Linked DNA regions of Homo sapiens: region 1 is linked to region 2. The links are contacts of gene promoters, found by promoter capture Hi-C in blood cells and fetal thymus (Javierre and others, 2016). All regions are on one chromosome and are shown on one strand. Each heading gives the region's core, a stretch centred on a gene start or on the middle of the fragment in contact. The rest is flanking DNA. Distances are from core to core; before and after follow the strand shown.

Region 1 (5,069 bases), core at 1,947-4,446, 450 kb after region 2:
AGGTGAGGCCATATGTGGGAGATGGAGAGAGATGGCTAATGGGTACAGAGTTTCTTTTTGGAGTGATGAATATATTCTAAAATTGATAATGGTGATGGTTACACAACTTTAAAGAAAGTAAAAACCATTGAATTGTACAATTTAAGTGGGTTGAGTTGTGTGGTATGTAGATCATGTCTCAGTAATACTGTTTTTTTTGTGTGAGTGGAAAAAAAGATATAAAGGAGTCAGACTTTAGGGAGATCAACTCAAATATCTGTGTGGCATTTAAAGGATTTTTAGGTTTTTAAAGAAAAGAAAAAGCATGTAAGATTGCCAGTTTGTAGCTATCTGTTCATGGTGGAAAACAGTAACTTTTTCTCATGTTCATCCTAGTCACAAACATTGTGATGTTACTTCAGACATAATCATTCTAAAAGGCAGAGATAACTTCAGTTTTTTAAAGATAAGGAGTGCACACTTGCAGGAATTAGTTTGGGGACTAGAACTAGATGGGGTGACCTCATCATTGTTGTTTCATTTAAGGGTACAAAGTGCTTATTTTTCCTGACTCTGGTATTTCATAATGGAAGCAGGGCAAAGTGTCAGTTGGGCTTCCACACTGGGAGCAATAAGAAATTTCTAGAAAAACATCTGAGATGTTTCTGTAAATAGCAGAATTAGCATGTGTGATAAACTAGTGGTTTTTACACTTTTTCGTTCATGTGTTCCCTAAAATAATTTAGAATTCTTGACTGAAAATTCAAACATATATAAAAGTAGAAGCAGTAGTATAATTAGCACCAATATACCCATCACTCAGATTTAATGACTCTCAAGATATTGCCATTTTTGTTCCTTCCTTCTTTTTCTTGTTTTCTTTGCCAAAAGATTGTAAAGCAAATCCTGGACATCGTTAGTTCTCCCCATACGCCTCAGTACACATCTCTAAACACATAATTTCTTAACCACAGTGCCACATCACATCAAATAGTAAGATATTTTTGGTTGCCTCCAAAATGTCTTCTTATAGTTGGTTTATTTGGATCAGGATTCAAACAAAGTTTAAACATTACTTTTTAGTTTTATGTCTTAAGCTTAAATATCTCTTACTCTAGAGAAGGCTCCTGTTTTTTTTTTTTTCTTTTCATACCATTGACTTGTTGCAGGAATGGCTGTCTTACAAAATGTTCTACATTCTGGATATGTTTGTTGGCTTCCTTGTGGTGTCATTTAACTTGTTCATTTAACTAGAGCATGCATTTTTCAACAGAGATGATATTGGATATTTACTAGAAATTTACCTTCTTTTTTTTGTTGTTGAAACAGGATCTTGCTCTGTTGCCCAGACTGGAGTGCAATGACATGATTACAATCATAGCTCGCTGCAGCCTTGACCTCCTAGACTCAAGTAATCTTTCCACCTCAGCCTTCTGAGTGGCTCGGACCATAGTTACATGCCAACATGCCTGCCTAATTTGTGTATTTTTTGCAGAGATGGGGTCTCACTATGCTGCCCAGGCTGGTCTCCTGGGCTCAAATGATCCTTCTGCTTTGGCCTCCCAAAGTGCCAGGATGATTTTCTTTCTTCATCTTGTATTTCTGTTTTATGTTTTACCCCAGTTTTATGTTAACGTTATCCTTATCTTTGAAAGTATTTTATTGATCATACTTCTTTGCCACAAAAATACTGACTGATATGGCAGGTTGCTAGAGGTTCCCCAATGACTTTCTCTCCTTGTAGTATTAAAACTGCTGATGGGGCTGGGCGTGGTGGCTCACGCCTGTAATCCCAGCACTTTGGGAGGCCAGGGGGGCAGATCACCTGAGGTCAGGAGTTCAAGACCAGCCTGGCCAACATGGTGAAATCCCATCTCTACTAAAAATACAAAAATTAGCCAGGTGTGGTGGCAGGCACCTGTAATCCCAGATACTGGGGAGGCTGAGGCAGGAGAATCGCTTGAACCTTGGAGGCGGAGGTTGCAGTGAGCCGAGATCGCACCATCACACTCCAGCCTGGGGGACGAGAGCAAGACTTTATCTCAAAAAACAAACAAATAAACAAAACAAAACAACGACAACAAACTGCTGATGGAATGGATCAGGATCACTTTTCAGTGAATTTCTCAACTTTGGGGTTTCCAGACCATACAGGTAGGTTACATTTGAACACTAAACCCATGTAAAGGAATGCCTATGCTTACAAACTGTCATGGGAGAGTTTTCTTTTTTCTTCCCAGGGGCCAGAATAAGAAAGATTTCTTTATAATCCATCTTGTTACTCAGCCTTAACATTTGGAAGGGCTTGGCTTTGTGGAGAGGTCTAAATTTTAAATCCCTGCCTTACATGGGTCTAAGTCCTCCTCCACTAGTGTTAAACTCTAAACCCATGATTACTGAGATGTTACCAGCATAAGCATACTCTTATTTTCCAAATTTTCAGGCCCCTCTTTGTTTTTGCTTCTTTGGGGATTCTGTTACTCTCTTGCAAGCTTGGCTCTGAATTTGAAAATACGTTTGTTAGATTTTATCCATCATATCTAGATGTTTTGAAGCCCAAACATTTTCATATGATCTTTCTTGTGATGTTGCTTTGGAAGTCTCCATACTTCTCTTACATCTCTCCATCCTGATGTTTCCTCCTTCCGTTCTCCCCCTGCCCAAAATCTTTGTTCCATAGCAGGTACAATTATCTGCCATCATCAAACTGGTTACTTCTTTGCCTTAACTGTAACTTCGCTCTTCCCCTAAAGTCACTGTTTGTTCTTTTTTTTTTGAGACAGAGTCTCGCTCTCTTGCCAGGCTGGAGTGCAATGGCACCATCTCAGCTCAGGGCAACCTCTGCTTCCCAGGTTCAAGCAATTCTCCTGCGTCAGCCTCCCGAGCAGCTGGGATTACAGGTGCGTGCCACCACACCCAGCTAATTTTTGTATTTTTAGTAGAGACAGGGTTTCACCATGTTGGCCAGGATGGTCTCGATCTCCTGACCTCATGATCTGCCTGCCTTGGCCTCCCAAAGTGCTGGGATTACAGGCGTGAGTCACTGCACCCGGCCAACTCACTGTTTGAAATAGCTTTTTTTCCCACATAGCCCAGACTCTAACTTATTGTCTTTTTTCATATCTATACTCCCCCAGACTCACACAATAACCAGCTTCCTTTAAAACATGTGCTGAATTACTTTATATCCTTTCTGTGCACACTCCCTTATTTATTTAGGGCCTGATACATGGGAAATTTCAACACTTGGGAAATTTCAACATCTCTGTGGATAGCCTCACCCACACTCTAACCTCAAGGCCTCTTGCTTATTCCAAACATGAGGAGCTGTACAATCTACCCCACAATGGCCCCACTCCCAAAGCCACACCTGTGTTCCTTGTCATCACTTGAACTAGACTATTTTAGGATTATTAATCCCTAACATGTAATTTACTAACTGCAAGCTGCTCACCCTCCAACTGGCTCACAATCTGACACCTGGACATTTTACAGCCCTTTAATCTCTTCAAACATTTCCCAAGTCCATTAACTCCCTTGCATTGTTACACTTCTTTTTTGCCTCATGGTGCTGTACTCTGCCCACATTCCTGCCAGCGACCTCAACTTCTTAGCTTCCTTATTCCACAGCATCTACTGTGCACAGCCTCTACCTGGGATTAATCTGATCCTGAACCTTCTCAATTTCTATACTTAAAGTAAAAATAAAGGTAAATGGGTGCCACTGGTACACGGTCTCTGGCCTCGCTAGGGCCTCAGCACTGTTTTGGCAATCCCTTTACAAACACTGGACCAGTGCTTCCTTGAGTTGAAGATGGCAGGCCCATAGAATGAGAGGAGCCGGGTGCTTCAATTACTGCTCCGAGAAGAGCTATTTACTGACCATGTTGGTCTTCATTTGAGCAAGAAAACACTTCAATTGTGTTTGAGCCATCAAGCTTTTGGTATCTGTTTGTTGTAACAATTACCATTACTTTAACAAATACAATGAGATACCATTTTAAAATTTTAATTTTCATCAGCAATAAGAGAAAATGTTATTTTATTTATTTATTTTTTTGAGATGGAGTTTCGCTCTTGTTTCCCAGGCTGGAGTGCAATGGCGCAATCTCGGCTCCCCGCAACCTCCGCCTCCCGGGTTCAAGTGATTCTTCTGCCTCAGCCTCCCGAGTAGCTGGGATTACAGGCATGTGTCACCACGCCTGGCTAATTTCGTATTTTTAGTAGAGAGGGGGTTTCACCATGTTGGTCGGGCTGGTCTCAAACTCTGGACCTCAGGTGATCTGCCCACCTCGGCCTCCTAAAGTGCTGGGATTACAGGTGTGAGCCACCCGCCCGGCTGAGAAAATATTATTTAAAACCAGCAATACAAAATTTAATTTCTTCTTCTTTTTTTTTTTTTTTTCAGACAGGGTGTCACCCTGTCACCCAGGCTGGTCTCGAACTCCTGACCTCAAGTTATCCTCCCGCCTCAGCCTCCCAAAGTGCTGGGATTACAGGTGTGTGCCACCACACCTGGCCTAGGAAATGTCCTTTCATTTTTGCTTCTCATCTCCCTGGTCCTACCTGCCTTATCCCCTATAGGGCTCACTATTTTTAGTTTCTCATGTATTCTTGAGAGTTTCTCTACAAGTATATAAGCAACTTTGAGTATAGTTTTATTTTCCCTTAAAACAAAACATAGTGTGTAATCACAATTTTATACTTTCCTTTTATTTCTTCTTTTCCTTCTCCTTCCTCTTCCTCTTTCTTTTCCTCCTTCTCCTCCTCCTCCTCTTCCTCCTCCTCCTTCTTCTTTGCCTTGCTCTGTTGCCCAGGTTGACGTGCAATGGTGTGATCATAGCTCACTGCAGCCTTGAACTCCTGGGTCAAGTGACTCTCCTGCCTCAGCCTCCCAAGTATCTGAGACTACAGGCATGTGCCACCACGTTTAGCTAATGTTTTTGCATTTTTTTTTTTTTTGATGGAGTCTCGCTCTGTCGCCCGGGCTGGATTGCAGTGGCATGATTTCGGCTCACTGCAAGCTCCCCCTCCTGGGTTCATGCCATCCTCCTGCCTCAGGCTCCCAAGTAGCTGGGACTACAGGTGCC
Region 2 (4,977 bases), core at 779-3,278:
GGCGACAGAGTCAGACTCTCTCAAAAATGTATACATACAAAGACATTATACATATATTCCATTTCAAGGTAACGGGGGTGTAAAATATAAAACAGAAGCTTCAGATCTTATTGGATCAAAAGTGGTTCACAATGCTTTTCTCTATCACTGCCACATGCTGAGTTATTCATTCATTAGTTCAGTCATTCATCAAATACTGATTGAGCAAAGATGACAAAACAGATCTTGCCCCTACCCTCATGGAGAGTGTGATCTTATGAAGCGACAGACAGAAATTAATGATCATGCAAATATGTAGTCATAGCAACTGTGATGAAGGATAAAAAGTATAAGGTAATGGAAGTATTCAACCTAATCTTAGAGGTAAGGAAAGGCTTCCTTAAGGAAATGACTTAAAGCTGATACTCAAGGGATAAACGAGTTGATGGGGGTCTCTCTGAACCTATTCTGGTTCAATTATTTAAAAAAATAGTTAACCAGAAGGCAGTACGGAGAGGAAAAAGTGTAAAGGCTCTCTCAGTAGCAGAAGAGAATGAAAAAGGGAGAAAGTTTGGAACAGAGGAGTGAGGGAAAGTAAGGCTTAAGACGAGGCAGGAGAAAGGAGCAGGAGTCTTGGCCAAAATAAAGATTTGGGTTTTGTTCCCTAAGCCAGGAAATGACATGATTAGATTTGCTTTTAAGGATCCTTCCAAACTGCTAAAGACATGTAGATCAAGTATTCATTGGCTGGGCGCGGTAGCCCACGCCTGTAATCCCACCACTTTGGGAGGCTGAGGCGGGAAGATCCCTTGAGGCCAATAGTTCTAGACCAGCCTGGGCAACACAGTGAGATCCCATCTCTCTCCATTTATTTATTTTAAAAAGAGACTCAGGCCGAGCGCGGTGGCTCACGCCAGTAATCCCAGCACTTTGGGAGGCTCACGAGGTGAGGAGTTCGAGACCAGCCTGACCAACATGGTGAAACTGCAGTCTCTACTAAAAATACCAAAATTAGCCAGTCGTGGTGGCGCGCGCCTGTAATCTCAGCTACGCAGGAGGCCGAGGCAGGAAAATCGGTTGAACCCGGGAGGCGGAGGTTGCAGTGAGCCAAGATCGCGCCACTGCACTCCAGCCTGGGCGACAGCCCAAGACTCCGTCTCAAATAAACATATAAAAAGAAAGTCAAGGTTATTCATTGCCTCCCTTGGAGACTGTACTCCCCCCCACCATGTCAATCAACAAATATCTGAACACCTATTTTTTTTTTTTTTTTTTTTTTTTTTGAGACGGAGTCTCGCTCTGTCGCCCAGGCCGGACTGCGGACTGCAGTGGCGCAATCTCGGCTCACTGCAAGCTCCGCTTCCCGGGTTCACGCCATTCTCCTGCCTCAGCCTCCCGAGTAGCTGGGACTACAGGCGCCCGCCACCGCGCCCGGCTAATTTTTTGTATTTTTAGTAGAGACGGGGTTTCACCTTGTTAGCCAGGATGGTCTCGATCTCCTGACCTCATGATCCACCCGCCTCGGCCTCCCAAAGTGCTGGGATTACAGGCGTGAGCCACCGCGCCCGGCCTCTGAACACCTATTACATACGGGGATACAGCTAAGAACTTTTCACAGAGACCCCCGCCCCTAACAAAACTTTACCTAAAAGGGTTGGGAGCATGTCCTACTCTAGTTTCATTCCCCGTTGGATCCGGCACACAACGCTAGGCGGTCATGTGTTCACTAAGCACCCCTGTGCCAGGCTCAAAAACATGGCCCAGGCGCAGACACTCAGATCAGCACCCACCCAGACCTGCAGGCGCTGTCTGCACACGCCTGACCGAGTCCACGTGCAAATGCACACGCACGAGCATTTGCAGGAGACCCCGGAAACACGCACACGTCCCAGGGGGGCCCACACTCCCGGAGCCGCCTTCGGTCCATGCCTCGCCCGGCCTGACTCTCCGTTCTCGCCCTCCCCGGTCCCTGGTCCCCCATCCACACTGCTCACTCGCGGGACTCACTTTCAGGTGTCTCCACGCCATGCTCCTTCCGTCATTAAGCCCGCCCCTGTCTCCCTTCCATTGGAGGAGATGGTGGCGGCCCCTCTTGTCTCCGCCCCTTAGCCGCCAACCCACCAGTCGCCGGGCAGAAGGGTTGAGAGGACGCCTCCGCGCAGCGGGGAAGGCCCGGCACCACCCCCAGGTTCTGGTTGGGTGCACGTGCGCAGTAGCGGCGGCCACGCCTCTTCCGCCCGCCCTCTCCCAGCCTGCCCGCTTGATCGCCGGCTGTTGGCGGAGATGAGATGCCGCTGCACGGTGTTTGTCCGTACTACCGCAGCCTCGAATCCAAGAGTCCGCGAGCATCAAAACACTGTGTTTCACACCAGAAATATTTGTACAGTTTTTATCACTTTAAAAAATAAATTTTACTGCTGTGTTGATATAAAGATGAATATGTTAATATATAAACTTTTTCAACTTAAAAGTTGATTTTTCTTAAGGTTTTTTAAGGAAATTAAAACATTTTCTTGAGGCCGGGCATGGTGGCTCACGCCTGTAGTCCCAGCACTTTGGGAGGCTGAGGCAGGCAGATCACTTGAGGTCAGGAGTTCGAGACCTGGTCAACACCCAAAACCCCGTGTCTACTAAAAAATAAAATAAAATACAAAAATTAGCCGGGCGTAGTGGCAGGCGCCTGTAATCCCAGGTACTCGGGAGGCTGAGGCAGGAGAATCGCTTGAACCCAGAAGGTGGAGGTTGCAGTGAGCCGAGATAGCACCACTGCACTCCAGCCTGGGCGACAAAGCAAGACTCTGTCTCAAAAACAAACAAAGAAAAATAACCAAAAAAAAAAAATTTCTTGAGATCCTAAAAGTGTCAGAGGCCCTTCCCTGGCCCTGCGCCTGTTGTGCCTCCTGGAGAAAGTGGCCCTGGTTATACCTTGGCATTGTGGTGCAACAGATGTGGAGGTATTTTTTTAAATACTGTTTCTAATCAAGACCCTGAGTGTGCAGGCCCGTTGGAGTGTGGTTTACTGCGGTGATTTTTTTTTTTTTTTTTTTTTTTTTTTGACAGAGTCTTGCTCTGTTGCCCAGGCTGCAGTGCAGTGGCGCGATCTCGGCTCACTACAAGCTCCGCCTCCCGGGTTCACGCCATTCTCCTGCGTCAGCCTCCCGAGTAGCTGGGACTACAGGCGCCCGCAACCATGCCCGGCTCATTGTTTTGTATTTTAGAGACGGGGTTTCACCGTGTTAGCCAGGATGGTACTGCGGTGATTTATGACGACCTAATGTGTCACTTTGTAGTCCTCTGAAGCAATCGTGCCCTCACGAAGAATTTTGAAATGTCTTACCTAATGATGTCCTGGCCGTTGGAGAATAGCCTCTGTAGACTTAGGTGTCAACAGCATTAATCAGATACTTATTGTTTGGAGGCTCTACACCCATCCGTGTCATTTTTGTCCAGTTGCAGTGTTCCCGCCATCAGCTGAAATAGCTGGGTTATTGTCGTAGCAGAAATTAGAGCAAAAGAAAGGTGTATGAAATATCTTGAGTCAAGCCATTTTTGAGCTTCATCAGTTGTATGAAGCTATCAAATTAGAACAAATTCACAGACCCAGCTGAGACTTAGAGACAGATTCTACTGCAATAATTTACATGCTAGGTGTTTCAGTCTACATGCAATAGAAATCATTGAAAACATTTATCAAGGTAAAAGTTATGCTTATCAACCTGTCTTCCCTTTACACTTTAATGGAATAAGTTAATTCAGCACACCTTAGTCAACATAAATCATTGCTCATCTGGGACAAAAAACTACTTACATGTTTATCCTCAGTTCTGAGCACTCTCTCACCAATTTTTTGGTCGTTTAAATTAAAACTTTTATTGATAGAGTGCTTGTGTCTTAGATAAAGCATGTATTGAAAGAATATATACAAGGACTTTACCCTTTATGAAAAGGATTGAAATGAAATTACAGCATTGTGTAAGATACCTGACTTGACTTTCAGAGATTTCATCAACATCAGGTTTCATTTAAAAATGCTTGAAACGGTCCCAGTCAGTCCAGAGGCTGCGGCTGTGGAGGTACCACCTGTGGAGAAACTGCAAAGATGCTGTCTGTGTGTGTCTCCGCGGCCGTAGCCCGTGACCTCACTCGGTGGGCAGGACTGGTCTCCAGAAATGCTTTGGGTTCATCTTTCATTGCTGCAAGGAACCTCCATGCCTCTAACACTCATCTTCAGAAGACTGGGACTGCTGAGATGTCCTCTATTCTTAAAGAGCATGTTCTTGGAGCTGATACCTCTGCTGACCTTGAAGAAACTGGGCATGTCTTAAGTATTGGTGATGGTATTGTCCATGTACATGGGCTGAGGAATGTTCCAAGCAGAAGAAATGGTAGAGTTTTCTTCAGGCTTAAAGGATATGTCCTTGAACTTCGAAACTGACAATGTTGGCATTGTAGTGTTTGAAAATAATAAAGTAAGGAAGGAGGTATAGTGAAGAGGACAGGAACCATTGTGGACGTTCCAGTCGGTGAGGAGCTGTTGGGTCGTGTAGTTGATGCCCTTGGTAATGCTATTGATGGAAAGGGTCCAATGGGTTCCAAGACCCATAAGTGAGTCGGTCTGAAAGCCCCCAGAATCATTCCTCGAACTTCAGTGTGGGAACCAATGCCGACTGGCATTAAGGCTGTGGATAGCTTGGTGCCAATTGGTCGTGGTCAGCATGAGCTCATTATTGGTGACCGAAGGACTGGGAAAACCTCAATTGCTATTGACACAATCATTAACCAGAAACATTTCAATGATAGATCTGAAGAAAAGAAGAAGCTGTACTGTATCTATGTTGCTATTGGTCGAAAGAGATCCACTGTTGCTCAGTTGGTGAAGAGACTTACAGATGCAGATGCCGTGAAGTACACCACTGTGGTGTCAGCTATGGCCTCAGATGCTGCCCTACTTCAGTACCTGGCTCCTTACTCTGACTGTTCCATGGGAGAGTATTTTAG

What was found. Contacts are between HindIII fragments. The CHiCAGO score rates a contact against its expected background, and 5 or more counts as called.
Region 1: a fragment that was not itself captured here is called in contact with the fragment with the promoter of DHODH in region 2 in 1 of 17 cell types (non-activated CD4 T cells); the score reaches 5.9 in non-activated CD4 T cells.

What each region holds. Positions count from the first base shown.
Region 1 is chr16:71,553,873-71,558,941 of GRCh38, reverse strand. No RefSeq gene overlaps it. Among named protein-coding and RNA genes, the nearest start is that of TAT-AS1, 8.6 kb to the left of the region's middle. The HindIII fragment of the contact is 1,446 bases long and covers 2,474-3,919 here.
Region 2 is chr16:72,005,795-72,010,771 of GRCh38, reverse strand. DHODH (dihydroorotate dehydrogenase (quinone)) reads right to left here and starts at 2,028. Exons shown (of 9, transcript NM_001361.5): 1 at 1,987-2,028. The coding sequence starts at 2,007. It also overlaps the pseudogene ATP5F1AP3. RefSeq lists silencers at 2,034-2,233, 2,177-2,276. The HindIII fragment of the contact is 5,632 bases long and covers 101-4,977 here.